Regions from separate parts of the Homo sapiens genome. Here region 1 is linked to region 2. Evidence: promoter capture Hi-C in 16 types of primary human blood cells and fetal thymus (Javierre and others, 2016). All regions are on one chromosome and are shown on one strand. The core of a region is centred on a gene start or on the middle of the fragment in contact, and the rest is flanking DNA. Distances in the headings are between cores, read along the strand shown.

Region 1 (7,824 bases), core at 364-2,863, 120 kb after region 2:
AAGTTCTGATTTCAGCAGAAACATAACGTCTGTGTTATCATCTGTTTCTTCAGGCTGCGGCATAGTCCCCTGCCCTCTGGCGTGTGCTAACCTCTGGTCGTAAGGGGTGTACACGCCCCAGTCTCGTTCAGATGACTCTGTGGCAGATGATGCCACAGCACTGCTAAAGGGAAATTATGCCGGAGCAAAGGCAACTTACATGGGCAGACTGTGGCCTGGGGAGGCATAGTTCTTTCTAAGAAAGGTGGTATCTAGCAAGAAGTTGAACAATAACAGAGAGCACATTACAGCAATACCTCCATGTCAGATAGGCAAGCCCGACATGTCCAGGGATGCACGCGTGGCTCTTTAAAGCATGCTCAGGGCTCTCTGTGCAGCCAAGGCAGCCGCCCCTGATCCCAGATGCTGCAGGCCACTGGCTTTGCTCGCCAAAGTGCTGCTCACCCTGGCTCTGGTCACGTGACAGACACAACCCCAGCCCCCATCCCAGTCCTCCGCTAGCCGGCTCCAAACCTACAAGTGGCCCGAAGTAGCGCATGAAGAAGATGCTGAGACTGGCATGAGACACGCGTCCAACATGCTTTTCAGGTGGAAGGCTTGGATGTTTTAACTTTTCTGAAATTGAGGAAAAGTGGACAATTGGGAAAAAATTGCATTTTAAGCTACATCATAAACCATATCTATCAGAGCTTCACTTGTGTCCTTGGGAAGGACCCAGGTACACAGAACACATATGTAGGCGTGCAGTACACATGTGGGTGCACAGAACACATTCAGGTGTGAGGTGCATATGTAGGCACATGGAGGATCTTTTTAGATGGTGGTGCATGTTTGTGGAGTGGATGAACAAATGCATGAGCTGCCTCAGGAGAAGCCTCTGGAGAGTGGGAAGCTTCCCCTCCAAGTGGCATCCACCCCACCCTCTGTTACCTTTGTGGTGGTGGTTCTGAGACAGGTCTGTGACTTTATCAGATTTGCTTCTAGAATGAGTAGAGATACGGAGCTCAGATGGCCCTAGGGTGGTCCCGCATGGGTCACAGTTGTGTCTTCAGGCCATGGATGATCATAGATTCAGTGTACTGGGTGGTGGTCAGTTTTGTTTTTGTTGTGATTTCAAGCAAGGAATAGAACAAGGTGGGATACAGCAGGAAGGGATGGGATGGGATGAGATGGGATGGGATAGAGCCGGATGTGATGTAATAGAACAGGATGGGATGGAATAGAACATGATGGGATGGGATGGGAGGGGAGGGGTGGAGAGGGGATAGAACAGGATGGGATGGGAGGGGAAGGGAGGAGAGGGGATGGAACAGGATGGGAGGGGAGGGGAGGGGACAGAACAGGATGGGAGGGGAGGGGAGGAGAGGTGATGGAACAGGATGGGATGGGAGGGGAGGGGAGGGGAGAGAACAGGATAGGACAGGACAGGCTAGATCATGCTTCAGGAGGACATGGCTTGCCCGGGATGCCCAGCTGCCATGTCTGCAGGCCTGGCCGGGGTCTGCACCTGCACAGCTGTGGGGGCTGAGAGACGCTCTGCCATGAAGTGCCTGCCCGCTCCCTGCTTTGTCCTGGCACCGCCGGCTGAGAGCTGCCTGACCTCCGTATCTGCTGGTTGCAGTTCGTGGTCGTGGTCAGCATTGTGACCTTCAGACCCCCCCACTACGGAGCCTACATCTTCCCCGACTGGGCCAACGCGCTGGGCTGGGTCATCGCCACATCCTCCATGGCCATGGTGCCCATCTATGCGGCCTACAAGTTCTGCAGCCTGCCTGGGTCCTTTCGAGAGGTGGGTATTTGGACGGGGCGCCTTCACCCGAGTGTGAGGCCACCAGAAAGGCTCCGTGGGTGTCCATGGCCCCAGTCCTCACCTGCCTGGGTCATCTGTGACCAAGAGGAGGAGACTGGAGGTGGCCACCACAACACTGTGTGTGTGTGTGCGTGTGTGTGTCCACCTGCACGCCCGGGCCCATGGGTGTGCGTCCATATGTGTATTCATGTGTGTGTCTTTAAGTATGTCCACATGTCTGTGTGTGTCTGTGTGTGCATGTGTCTGTGTGTGCTTGTGCCTGTGTGTACATCCACTGTATCTCTGTGTCTGTATGTGCTGTCTCCGTGTGCACGTGTGTGTGGGCCTGGGTCTGTGCTCACATTCGTGTCCAAGTGTTTGTGTGTACTGAGTGCATGCATGCCTACACACTATGGTATGTGGTGTGGTGGACACAGAAGCCATCTGAGGGCGGTAGAATCAGGGGTGATCTAGGTCCCCCCAGGGCCGAGCCCAACTTTGGCTGAACAGGGGCAGCTGGAGCCCCAGGCAGTGGAGGAAGCTTTGCGGAGTCACTGATATGCATCTCCTTTCTTCTGCTTGGTTTTGCCGCCTTTGTGTAGAAGAAAGGCAGGTGGACCAGTCACAGGGCCCTGTTTAACACCCTGGCTCTGTGGTTCCAGGAAGAGACAAGGACACTCCCTCCTTGGAAGAGGGTCGCCCTCACCTGAGATCCCACCACTGGGAACTCCCGGAAGCTGCTTCCTCAAATCCCAGCCTTTCTCAGAAAGAAGTCGCTTGGCCCTGGGCATCAAAACCCCAGAGCAGCACCAGCTGTGTTCAAGGATTCCACCTTAGGGCCACACGGTGTCCCCTGGGCTCAGACATGTGGCAGATGCTCTCAGGCTGGCACTGAGCCAGTCTCTCCAGCAGCCTGGCCAGGCCAAGGCCCAGTGCAGGCAAAGCACAGTGTGTGGCTGGGGGCTTCTGTGGAGTGGGAGGAGCTCTGGGGCTGCCATGGCCCCAGGAAAGCTGATGGCACCCTGCTGTGGACAGTCCCTCTCAGACCCCCACGGGCTGACCTGCCAGGACCCAGCACAGGGGAAGAGCAGGCAGCCGGGCAGTCTCTGCAGGGAGAGAGCTCCTCTGGGAGGCTGGATGGACGTGGGAGGCGGGGCCCAGGTCAGCGCAGAGCTGGAGGATGCCTACAGCCCGGCGGACCTGAACAGCCAGCGCCCTTACCCCTCGCATGGCCAAACTCTGAACGTAAGCCAAGTAAAACCTCAGCAGCTGAGCCAGGTACAAGTGGAATTGTGGTGATGACGTGGGGTGGGGCCACGCACAGGGGTCCCTGTGAGAGGTCACCTGGCCTCAGAGATCCAGATACAGGCATCCAGGCCCGAGAGGGTGAGCTCCTGAAGATGCTGCCTGCTCTGGGAGGACTTGGTGCTGTCCAGGCCCCAGGAGCTGCCGCAGCGGGCAGTGGAAGGAAGGCACGTTCAGCGTTCACTCTCCCAAGAGCTGCAGGTGACAAAAAGCAAGTGCTCCCGGAATATGTCAGCTGCAGGTGGCCCCGAGGCAGCCCACCTGGGTGTGGGCACTTTCTTACTCAGAGCCCAGCACACGTGGTAGCTTAGACTCAAGAGCCATCTCCAGGACCACGTTTTATTTTCAAGCGAGTGCTCAAATGCTGATGTTCTGCTCTGCGCTAGACTTTAAGGGGACCGTCAGGATGTTGGCTTCGGGCCTGACTGGCTGTCTGGTCGGCATGGGCACTGGCAGTGTAAGTCAGTGGTGGGCGCTGGTGATATGGATGCCAGCGGGTGGGCATTGGCAGGTGAGGAGGGCTGGTGGTGAGGGTGCTGGTAGGTGAGGGTCCTGGCAGTGTGAGTCAGTGGTGGGTGCTGGCAGTGGGTACTGGTCTGCACTGACCCCTGCACTCTCTTTCTCTTTCAGAAACTGGCCTACGCCATTGCACCCGAGAAGGACCGTGAGCTGGTGGACAGAGGGGAGGTGCGCCAGTTCACGGTGAGGTCGAGGTCCCTGCTGGGCCTCTCTCGGGGGAATTCAGAATGATCCCAAGCTCAGTGTTCTTAGCCCCCAGGGGGCTCCGAGGCTGGTGTAGATGGTGCTCATTTACTCAGCCAGCATGTGCTCTATGAGGACAGGCAGCCAGTGGTGGCAGGTGACAGTGGAGACGTGTGCCCGGGACGGGGGGCACATGACGCAGGGGCCCTGGGAGGTGCGGCTGCACAGACGCCTGAGGAAAGCATGGTCCCTGCAAAGACCTGGGCATGTCCCAGACCACGGGAGCAGTGCCCTGTGGGGCCAGCTGAGCCAGGTTAAGGACCAGCAAGGGACCACCACCCCCCGCCTCACGGGGGCACAAGGGACAGTGCCAGGAGGGGAGGCCTGGGCCTGGCCATGGGAAGCCACAGGGAGCCCTGGAGGGGCTGGGAGAGGCCTGGGAGCCTGGGGCTGGCTTCGAGTGAGAGGATGGTCACGCCAGGTGTTTCCTGCACCCTGGGAGCCATCCAGCTGTGTGCGAACATGTTCATGACATGCCGTGGAGCAGGTGCATTCCCGGGGGCACACAGTAAACACTTGACGTGTTTTTACTCCCACAACCCTAAGAGGCAGCCCAGCACTCTCTCTACACCAGGGTCCCTGAGACCCAGAGAGGCCCCGGAATGTGCCCAAGATCACAGAGCTGGCCAGCAGGAGAGGAGCCTGGGCTGTGCCCTGGGCCTGTGGCACTGTCCTCCTCCACCCCAGAGTGGCCTCAGCCCCGACCTGATTCCATACACTAATGTCAGCCTAATGCCGACAGCAGAGTCCAATGCACAGCAAAAGGGAGAGAAGGCCATAGTGTGGAGGGCACCGCGGCCCCACCTCGGACCTGCCTCTTCCCTCTGGCCACCTCTCTGTGGCTGGTTCTCGTAAACAGTCCTCCCAGCAGGGGTCTCATGAGCTCATGCCTGAGGAGCCCAGCATGGACCTGCACATGGGGCAGGAGCAAGGATACAGGCAGAGGGAGGGGGCTCTGCGTGCCTGGGAGGTGGGTGGTGACGTCAGGCAGAACAAGACGCTGAGCAGGGAACAGGCCGGGAGGCAGTGGGGAGAAGCCGCCTCTGAGCACACATCTGCACAGCTTGTTCCTCCTACCTGCAAGTCAGGTTCTGGTGTGGGCTCTGCCTCCCTCCGTTGGCACCCTTTCCTCTGTCCTCCCAGTGACTTGCCTGCTCCAAACACAGGAGGCGTGTCCAGGCATCCCATCCCATCCATCCAGAGGATGCCAGCCCCTCCCCACTGGGCCTCCGGTCCTGCTCCACCAGAGCCTCTCTCCTCTGAGAGTCCTATACCTGGGGGTCTTACACTTTGTACAGGATCTTGCTAGTCTTCTCAAATATCCAACTTTGACTTCATGTGAGATTCTTGCTGTGCTTCCTGTCACATTAATCTCAGCTCCTGTATTTATCATTTCTTCCTCTCTTTTTCTTGGATCTACTCTGTTGTAGTTTTGCTAACTTTTTAATTTGGACTTTAGGTTATTAATTTGCATCCTTCGTTCTTTTCTAATGTAAGCACTCAAGGCTATGAATTTCCCTCAAAATACTCCATGTGCTACATTCCGTATTTTTTTCATAGTATTTTTCTTTATCTTTTAGTTCTAAGTATATTTTAATTTCCATTGTGACTTTGTCAACTCATAACTTGCTTAAAAGTCTGCTTTTAAATTGCCAAATATATGGGGATGTTTTACTCATCTTTTTGTTTTTAATTTCCAAATTAATTTCATTGTTCTCAAACACATATGATACCTATTATTTAAAATGTATTGAGACTTCTTTAGGGCCTTATACCTGATCAACTTTGATAAACGTTGCACATCTTTTAGATGAATGTGCTATTCTCTAATTGTCAATACACAGTTCTGCTTCTGTCCATTTGAGTAGGGTTATATATTATGTTACCCACATTGTCTACACTTTGTCAACTTTAGGGGTGCTTGACCATGAGTAATTGAGAGATGCCTGTGGCATATTCTTCCTCGATAGTATATTTGTTTGCTGTTCCCCTCAGTTCTATCAGGTTTTGCTCTCTGTAGTCTGAGGCTGTTTTCTGAGGTTGATCCATGTCCAGAATGATCATCTCTTCCTGGTGACATGAACCCATCTTCACTCCCTAATGATGCTTTTGGTCTTAAAGTCTGACTTGTCTGGGACAAATATAGTTGCACCAAGGTGTCTTTTGAGTTTGCCTGAAATATCTTTTGCAATCTGTTAACTTTCAACTTTGCAGTAACCTTAAGATTTAAGTGTCTTTTGCAAACCCAGCATACACCTAGAATTTTTTACGCTGACAGTTGGACAGGTTAATCCATTTACATTTGTTGTGATTATTGATATATTTGAACTTGATTCTACTATCTTTCTATTCCATTTGTCCCATTTTTAGTGTTTTTCTCCTTTATTGCCTTTTTATAGATTGATTTTTCTTGGTTCACTCATTTTTATTATTCCGTTTATTTCTCTCTACTTGCTTAGAACTTACATACTTTATTCTTTTTTTTTTTTTTTTTGAGGTGGAGTCTTGCTCTGTCACCCAGGCTGGAGTGCAGTGGCATGATCTCTGCTCACTGCAACCTCCACCTCCCAGGTTCAAGCAATTGTCCTGCCTCAGCCTCTCAAGTGGCTGGGATTACAGGTGCCCAGCACCACACCTGGATAATTTTTGTGTTTTTAGTAGAGACAGGGTTTGACCATGTTGGCCAGGCTGGTCTCGAACTCCTGATCTCAAGTGATCTGCCCACCTCTGCCTCCCAGAGTGCTGGGATTACAGCCGTAAGCCACTGTGCCCGGACTTATTCTATTCCTTTAATAGCTACTCTTGAGGTTGTACCATACATATTTCACTTAAACTCTACAGAGAAACCATATTTTAACCCCATCCCATTATAAGGACTTAAATCTTCCTCCTACTGATGAACATGCTATGATTGTTCAAATCTATTTCTCTCTTTTTAACCCACAAATTAGACACTGTCATTGTTCTTGTTCCTGTTATTATTTTGTACGGACTCATCATGTTCCTTGGACTAATGTGCATGCTTGGTGTTTGTTGGTTCCCATACTTTTGTTATAGACTTCTTTTCTTCTAGGACCATTTTCTTGCTTTTCAAAAAGCATCCTTCAGACATTCCTTTGAGGAGGTCTCTTGCTAACCTCCCTCACTATTGGTGTGTGGGAACATCTTTATGCTGCTCTCATTCACGAAAGCACTGTTGTGGGCTCAGGGCTCTAGGCTGACAGGGACTATCTCTGCGTTTTGGAGGCAGCAGTGTTCCGTGGCTGTGCTGAGATGTGTGGCCTGTGAGCCTGCTCTGTGGTGGGCTCTGTCCTCACCCCTGCACTCGGCCGAGTTTCTTCTGCTTTCGGTGTCTCGGGTTCACTGCGGAGTGTCGGGACCTGGGTTTCTTTTTTGTTTGTTTGTTTGTTTGTTTGTTTGTTTTGAGACGGAGTCTCGCTCTGTAGCCCAGGCTGGAGTGCAGTGGCGCAATCTCGGCTCACTGCAAGCTCCGCCTCCCGGGTTCGCGCCATTCTCCTGCCTCAGCCTCCCGAGTAGCTGGGACTGCAGGCACCCACCACCGTTAATTTGGTTTCTTTTTATTTTTCCTCTCTGGATATGTTTTGTGGCCAGATCTGTGGATTCACAAATCTTGTCATTCTGTGAATTTTGCAGCCACACACTGAAAGATTGCCTTCTGCCTTTCTGTGTTTTCCATTATGAGGCTCTGGTGTGTCCACTTTGCCCCAGGTCCTCCAGGTCTCTTACCTCACTTAGATTTTGTTTTCATTTGAATCTTAGGTGCACAGTTGAGTAACGCATCTTATCATTAATCCACATGTGGCCATTTTTAAATTATTAATTTGTCACCGTAACAAACAGACCCTTGTGAGCCCACAGCAGGAAAACTAGGCACTGTGGAAACTGCCTGCCCCTCACCCATTCTGTATCTGCGTCTAGCTTGATCTTTCCCTTGCCCTTCTTACAAT
Region 2 (7,727 bases), core at 4,453-6,952:
AAAAATCCCACCAACCTTTTGTTTGTTTGTTCCTGGATACTTCAGTTTCTTGACAAAATGATTCTAAAATTTTGGCTGGGCATGGTGGCTCACACCTGTCATCCCAGCACTTTGGGAGGCCAAGGCGGGCAGATTACCTGAGGTCAGGAGTTCGAGACCAGCCTGGCCAACATGGTGAAACCCCGTCTCTACTAAAAAATATAAAAATTAGCTGGGCGTGCTGGTGCATGCCTGTAGTCCCAGCTACTCCGAAGGCTGAGACAGGAGAATCGCTTGAACTCAGGAGGCGGAGTCTGCAGTGAGCCGAGATCGGGCCACTGCACTCCAGTGCAGTGCAGTCTAATTTCAAGACTAATATAAAGCTTTAGTAATCAGTATAGTGTGATGTTGGCAGTTGCAGATGTACAGATCCATGGAACAAAATACAGAGTCCAGGAATAGACTCAACTATACATATATGGCCACTTAATTTTTTTACAAAGTTGTCAAGGTAGTTCAATGGAGAAAGAATATTCTCTTCAACAAATGGTGCCGAAACAGTTGAATATTCAGACGAAAACATTTGAAACTAAAAAACCTCTGCCTCCACTTTACTTTATGCCGTGTACAAATGTCAACTTGAAATGGAATACAGACCTAAATGGTAAAGCCAAAACTGTAAAACTTCTGAAGTAAGAAAATCTGAATGACCTTGATGCAGGTAAATATTTATAAAAGAGGATACCAAAACCATGATCCCTAAAAGAAAACGCTGATAAATTGGACTTCATCAAAATTTAAAATATCTGCTCTTTGAAAGACACTATCACTGCTTAACAAACCATCTCAGTCTGTAGTGACTGAAAACCACCACAATTTTCTGTTTGTCATGATTGTGGGTTGAATAGGAAGTCCATCCATTGTACATGATGGAGTCCCTCACTCTGGGGCTGTGCACTCCTCATCTGGAACATCCACAGGTCCTCTTGTACCCTGGGGTCTGTCTTCATACAACCTCTACACAAGCAGTAGTGGTTCTCCATATAATCCATACTGTCAAGAGTAATTTTTTTTTTTGAAAGAGAGTCTCGCTCTGTTCTTGCCCAGGCTGGAGTACAGTGGCGTGATCTTGGCTCACTGCAACCTCTGTCTCCCAGGTTCAAGCAATCCTCCTGCCTCAGCCTCCCGGGTAGCTGGGACTACAGGCGTGTGCCACCACACCTGGCTAATTGTCATATTTTTAGTAGAGATGGGGTTTTGCCATGTTGGCCAGGCTGGTCTCGAACTCCTGACCTCAGATGATCCGCCCACCTCGGCGTCCCAAAGTGCTGAGATTACAGGCATGAGCCACCGCGCCCGGCCCAAGAGTAATTTTTGAAACGATTATTACATCACTGCAGAAGTATGAAGCATCAAGGAATTAACAAAAATACAGAATCTTTATGTAGAAAAATTTAAAATGCTATCAAAGGGCATGAAAGAACATCTAAATAAATGGTAGAATAACCATGTTGGTGAAAAATCGTTCTCAAAATTATAAAGTGTCCATGCCACATCATCCATTTAAAAAATTTTTTTTTTGTATTTTCTAGTGCTTTGAAGCCTTGGAGCCTTGGAGCCTTGCTGGCCCTTCGAGGGCCCCTCCCAGGACCAGCCAGCTCTTACTGAAGTAACATTCTTAGGGAACAGGGAGAATGAACAGTAAGAATGAAGTAACATTCTTACTGAAGTACCCTGTACAATTAATGTGATTCAAAAGGAAGCTTCCAGCGGGAATTTTTAGCAATGGGGACAACTGCTTCCAAAATTTGGATGGAAAAATAAAATTCCCTGAATTCCTACTACAATTCTTGGGAAGAAGCGCCAACAGGAAGGAACCCCCTCTACAGTTACTAAGGCAGACGGTTGAAAGGTGTGAGACAGGAGTAAAGGAGTACGCGGACCGGCGGGTGAGACGGGAGTAAAGGAGTACACGGACCAATGGGTGAGATGGGGCAGCCAGAAGGAGCTTCAGGAACCCTTCTTTCTGTTCATGCTGGAAGTGGACCCACAAGTGGGAGTCTGTGATTGATACGTGGTGTTGAGAATATCAGGTCTCCATGCAGAGAAAAAAATCTTCAAATAGAATAAAATGCAACCATGAAAGGCAGAACTGAAAAAAGATGTTAGTAGAAAATGAAGGAGAATATCTTTTTCTATCCTATAGATAACTCTAAAATTCAAAAATTAAACAAACAAAACAAAAATACTCAGCCTTACCAGAACAAGCAGGTACCTTGTGTTCTCAATGCACTTGGAGTATAGGAAACACTTCTCTGTGAGCTTACACTCTTAAAACAGAGACAAAACCAGAGCAAGAAGCCTCAGGGGTGTGGTTACCAGCCCCAGGGAGCTGTGGGGGGCTTCCAGGAGGTTCCTGAGAACCACAGTGGGGGCTCCCTTTGTAGCTAAAGGGCCCTTAGGGTGGTTTTCCCAAAACTAAGTCCTAATGAGAAACTCATGTTTCCCCTGCTAGACAGAGAAAACTGCTTATACCTCCCCACCCAAGACCAACTTCTCTTAGTCAAGCTTCCAGACCCTCCAGGTCTTAAGAACGTTCCATTACATAGCAGAACCAAAGCCTAAGTGTGAAGGCCCAGTGTGGGTGGAGGAATTTCCTTGCTGCTCCTCCACGCTTGCGCTGATTTCCCCATAAGCAGCCCCTCTCCCCCACCCCTCGCAGTCCCCAGGAGAAAACTGACTCCCACACACAAGAGTGCCCCAGCTCCCCACCCCCTGGGCACGTGCCCTGTGGACCATCCAACCCCTTCCAGCTGCAGCAGAGAAGGAGTCCCCGCTCCGGGCCCCAGGCCTTTCCTTCCTCTGAGCGCAGAATCCTTCCAGACTGAGATGGGCCCATGACACCCCCTCTCACAGGGGTTTTCAACGTCTCCTGTGAGGCTGGCCTGTTGCCTTCCACCCAGGAACATGTCCTGGGCCCCTTCCTTGAGCTGCTGCCCTGGATCCCAGCCTCCCGCCAAGCATCCATTTTCCTCCTCCTGCCCATCACGCTTCCTCCTTTCTCAGGTAGCTGGGAAAGAACCTCTGTAACTCCTGCCCACTCCACAGCACCCTGCAGGGTGGTGGTCTCCACCCTTGCTACTACCACTGGCTGGCCTTCCCAGTTCTCTCCTGGCCAGTCCTCCTGGATGGGGCAGTTCCGTGGACTCAGCCCCTCTGGGGACCTCCGCTCCTTGGCCGCTCTCTGGGGCCTTCTTGGGTTCTGCTTGGTGAGGACGAGTGTGCCCCAGTCCTGCCCCCTGCTCTGCACAGCCCTTGGCCCTGTCACACCCACCCTCCCAGCTGTGCCCCCTTGTGTACTGACCCCGGAGCTGGGCCTCTGCGCCTCCTCCACATGGTGCCTGTGACCCAAGGATCCACTGAGCTTCTACACCAAGGCCACGCTGCCCACAGTGGCTCCACCTAAGACCCCTCTGGGAGAGGGACTCCTCTTTCCACCGACCTTGGCTCAAGGACAACCTGCTGACCCTGCTTAGATTGCCGGGCAGTATGAGGTTCTTCCCCCAGCCTCCCCACCTCCTTCCCTGGGTTCCAACTCACTTTGCACTCTGCAGGTTAAAGCAGAAGGAATTTATTCTCTCCCAGTCTGGAGGCCAGAAGCCTGCGATCATGGCACCCTAGGCCTAGGCTCCCTCTGAGAGCACTAGAGAGGACCTGCTCCAGGCCTCTCCAGCTCCTGGGAACTGCTTGCCTGTAGCAGCAGAACCCTGGCCTTCCCATGGAGCTCTCTCTGTGTCTGTCTCTGAGACCGAATCTCCCTCTCTATAGGGACACAAGCCATTTCAGACTAGGGCCCACCCTAATGACTTCCTCTTAACCTGATCATCTGCAAAGACCCTGTTTCCAAATAAGGTCGCGGCCACAGGTGCTGTGGGTTAGGACTTTTGCATCTTCTGGGGACACAGCCATGACTCTCTGGCAGCTCTCCCCATTGAATCTGGCTCTGCACCATCTCCAGCAGGTTTCCCCTCCGCCACACACCGCTTCCTGGCCTGTGCTTCTGGGAGGACCCCACTTTCATGGCTCTCCAAGTCCAGTCCTGAGGCTGCTCTCATCCCAGGACTGGGACACCCTAGGGCCCCTCCTCTCCAGAGCACTCAGGCAGCAGGTGGGGCCGCCTGGATCGCTGGGGTGCAGGTGCTGCCCTGTGGCTGGCAGGCTTTGTGTCCTGGGCTTTCTTGATGATCAGTTCGGTGAGGAGCCTTGGGTGGCCTCGGGTGCTGGGCTCTGGTTTTGGGGATCAGAGCAAGTGGCCACTAAAAGCCCAGGAGGTGGGTGCAACGCTGGTGGCTGGGCCACAGAGCCACCAATGCCCACCAGCACACAGGGCTCACCCCATCCCCGTGGGTGTGGCACTTGGGACAGGTGCTGCTGCTAGGCATGGGCTGGGACTCTTATGGGGCAGGAATATGGGCTGGGACTCTTATGGGGCAGGAATAAGGCCATGCAGCGGGTCTGGCCTGCCGGGGCCTTCTCTGTGCATGATATGTGGATGGCACAGACCCCTGGCCCTCACCCCGGTCTCAGACACAGAAGGGTCTCTGCCAGCCCGCTGCACTATGAGGTCCACAAGGGCGCAGGCAGGGTCATTGGAGGGGTCGGGGCACTCCCTGGCGTCTGCTGAGGATGGGGCCCAGCTGGGGCCAACACAGCAGTGACATCCCCAGGAGCCAGGACCCTGGGGGGTTGGCCAGGTGGCCCAAACCGGCTCTGTCTGGGTGAGGTCCGTTGGCCATGAAGGAACCAACAGGGCCAGCCGGGGTGAGGAAGCCGTGAGCACTGTGACCGAAGGCCTGCGTGAGTTCTGAAATCCAAGCGTGTTCACCCGGAGGCAGGAGCCCATCCTACTCTCGCTCCGGCTAATTATGGGCCCCACCCTGGGGCTCCTCACACGGCTCCTGAGCACCACAAGGGCAATGCCCGAGCCAAAGCAGCTACGGGTGAGAAAGCGCTGGGATCTCATCGCAGCCCCTGCACAACCAGCACGGACAGTCAGGGCCCCTATGTGCGCCTCCTGCCTGGGCCATCCCTGCGGGGCCTGAGGCCTGAGAGGTCCTGAGATCGGAGGGGTCCTGAGGTCTGAGGGGGTCCTGAGGCTTGAGGGGTCCTGAGATCTGAGGGGATCCCGAGGTCTGGGGGGTCCTAAGGTCGAGTGGACCTCAGGCGGGAGTCGCCTGGGCTGAGGCGCGGCTGGAAGAAGCTCCCTCAGCCCGGGGCAGCTTCCAGGGTCGCCGGTGCGAGCTAGGAGCCCAACGAATAAGAAGAATGGCGTGGGGCCTTCGCCGGAACAGCCCGGGGCTCGGCACCCAGGGCCTGGCCCGCCTTGCGCGTAAGCTGGACGCGTGCCCGCCCCTTCCTCCCTCCCCGCGAGCAGGCGGGCCGAGCGGCGGAAGGGGACGACGTGGCAGCCTCGCGGGCCCGGGGGACCTCCCTTTCTCCTGGCGCAGACCCTGCCGGGGATCCCTGTGCTCCAGTGGCTGCAGGAGGCGCCCCCGGTCCCCAGCGGCCCCGGCCCCCCACAGACCCCAGAGAAACCACCAGGTAGCGGAACTCCGGCTGGTGCCGCCCCTGCCGGCCGGCGGGAGGCGAGGCTTCCAGGGACGCCCCGCCCCGGCCGGCGCTCCCGCTCCGCCCACGTCACCTCCCGCGCCTGCGCGCCCGGCCCGCTCCAGCCGCCGCGCATCCTCGGCCCGCGCCCCGAGACCCGCGCCCAGCTAGCCCCGGCCCCGCTCGGCGCCCCAGGCAGCTCGGCTGCGCTCGCCGCGGGACGGCGCGGCCATGAGGCTGCGGGGATGCGGACCCCGGGCCGCCCCTGCCTCCAGCGCAGGGGCCAGCGACGCTCGGCTGCTGGCGCCCCCGGGGCGGAACCCCTTCGTGCACGAGCTGCGCCTCAGCGCCCTGCAGAAGGCCCAGGTGGGTGCCCAGGGCGCGCGGCCCCGGGAGCCGGCGCGGACGCCAGGGATGCTGGGGCCAGGGAGGCGCGGCCGAGGAGGGGCCGGGGAGGGGGCCTGGGGCGCGGCGCGGCCCTGCGAGCCGCGGCGCCTTCCCTCCCCGCGGCCGCCCCTCAGTTCGCGTCCCCGCCGCCCGCACCCGATGCCTCGGTCTCGGCGCCGGCTTCCCGCCGCCCGCACGCGCATCCTGGTCCCTCAGCGCCTTCCTCGGGGTCCCCGCTTCCCATCCCCGCCCCGCGTTCTGCTCCTCCCCCCAGACCCCTGCACCCTGAACCGGGCCCACAACCCTTTCTCTGCCTCCCAGAGCCCCGACCTCGGCTCCCGCGGGAGGCTGGACCCGCATCGCCGGTCCCCGCGCTCGTCCCTGGTCCGGGCCCCGCCCGCCTTGGCAGGCCCTGCGCGCAGCCCGGGGACTCCGGAGCGGCTTTGCCTGGACGCGGCCCGCGGGCGGGAGGGCACCGCGGCTCTGGGTGAGCCTCGTGTGCGGGGCCTGGTGGTGCCCGGGACAGGGCGCGCGGGCGGTGCGGGTCCCCTGTAGGGTCCCCTGTAGGCGCACGGGTCTCCCTGCTCTGCGGCCGCACGTTGCCTTCTGGGGTGCATGCTTCGCTCCTGTTGTAAGGGATGCTTTCTCGGGGCTGGTCTGACCCGAATCAACTTTATGCAACCTGGGCTGCCACGTGGGAGGGAACGGTTTGCTGAGATCCTGCGATGGGACAGTGGTGAGGGGAGACCCGGGGGCGTCGTGGGGAGGGGGCCGCTCGCTGCAGGAAGCTGCACCGGGGATGTGCTGGCTCAGCCTGGCTTTTCCGGCTACCTGGCTGCCAGCTGGGCTTACAGTTACCTGAGATCCACTCTCAAGAGGACCTTACTTTTGACTCTAGAATAATTCCTAGAAGCAAGCACTGTTTCGGGGCCTATGGGGCTGTCCGGTTTGTAGGGAGCACGCTTCCAATTGTGAGAATAGATTTCCGGGAAGATGGAGATTTGTTAATGCATAAAGTACTTTATCTGAAAGAACCCTGAAGTGAAAAGTTCTTGAGGCCAGTTTGAGCTTGTCATTTTCCCAGGACGCCTGCTTTTGCTCAAAGCCCCTTGATGCGGCTGGTCCTCAGGGTATGGAAGGGGACGGGGAGCAGGAGAGCCCGATGGTGCCGCCCCTCCTGGTGACACACAGGGTGAGGTCGTCCCCAGCCTGGCTCCCAGGCCCTGGCCCCCGTCTCCCTGTGTGTCGGGAGCTGGACTCTGGGGCTGGGGCGGTGCCGGCCCCTCTGCCGCCGCTCTGCCTGGCCCTCTGTCTGCCACACGCTGTCAGCTGCCGTGTGCTGTGCCCCTCAAAGGAGGACTTGGGACACGGTCGCTCATTCTGTGCCCCTCAACCATTCCTCCTCTTCAATCCTCACCCCCACCCAGCCACCAGGCTCTCTCCCTGGTCACTCTCCCTGAGTCACTCCCAGCAGGCTTTCTTCCTCCTGCACTCTGCTGCTCGGAAGCCCTCAGCGGGGACGCCCCCGGATGAAATTCGAACCCCTGCTGTGGTTTCCAGGGCTTCCCCAGCCCTGCTCCTGCCCCAGCTATGGCTGCCTCAGGCATGCTCTCTCTTCCTGCCTTTCCTACTCCCTCCTGGCTCCCTGGGGGGAAACATCAAGCCCCTCCCTGGAGGTCCCCGGAGGCCACTTCGTCATCCCTGTCATAGTTGCAGCCCCCGGTTGAGGTGTGTTCTGTCCAAAAGTGTGCACC

Evidence for each region. The method cuts DNA at HindIII sites, captures the fragments that hold promoters and counts their contacts. A CHiCAGO score of 5 or more calls a contact.
Region 1: a fragment that was not itself captured here is called in contact with the fragment with the promoter of LPCAT1 in region 2 in 1 of 17 cell types (total B cells); the score reaches 5.3 in total B cells.

What each region holds. Positions count from the first base shown.
Region 1 is chr5:1,396,887-1,404,710 of GRCh38, reverse strand. It overlaps SLC6A3 (solute carrier family 6 member 3), which reads left to right. Exons shown (of 15, transcript NM_001044.5): 13 at 1,622-1,789; 14 at 3,725-3,796. Among named protein-coding and RNA genes, the nearest start is that of LINC01511, 21 kb to the right of the region's middle. The HindIII fragment of the contact is 1,438 bases long and covers 895-2,332 here.
Region 2 is chr5:1,521,935-1,529,661 of GRCh38, reverse strand. It overlaps LPCAT1 (lysophosphatidylcholine acyltransferase 1), which reads left to right and starts at 5,702. Exons shown (of 14, transcript NM_024830.5): 1 at 5,702-5,952. The coding sequence starts at 5,818. RefSeq lists a cis regulatory region at 4,310-4,545, silencers at 5,315-5,714, 5,735-6,044, 6,315-6,514 and an enhancer at 7,675-7,727. The HindIII fragment of the contact is 5,602 bases long and covers 2,550-7,727 here.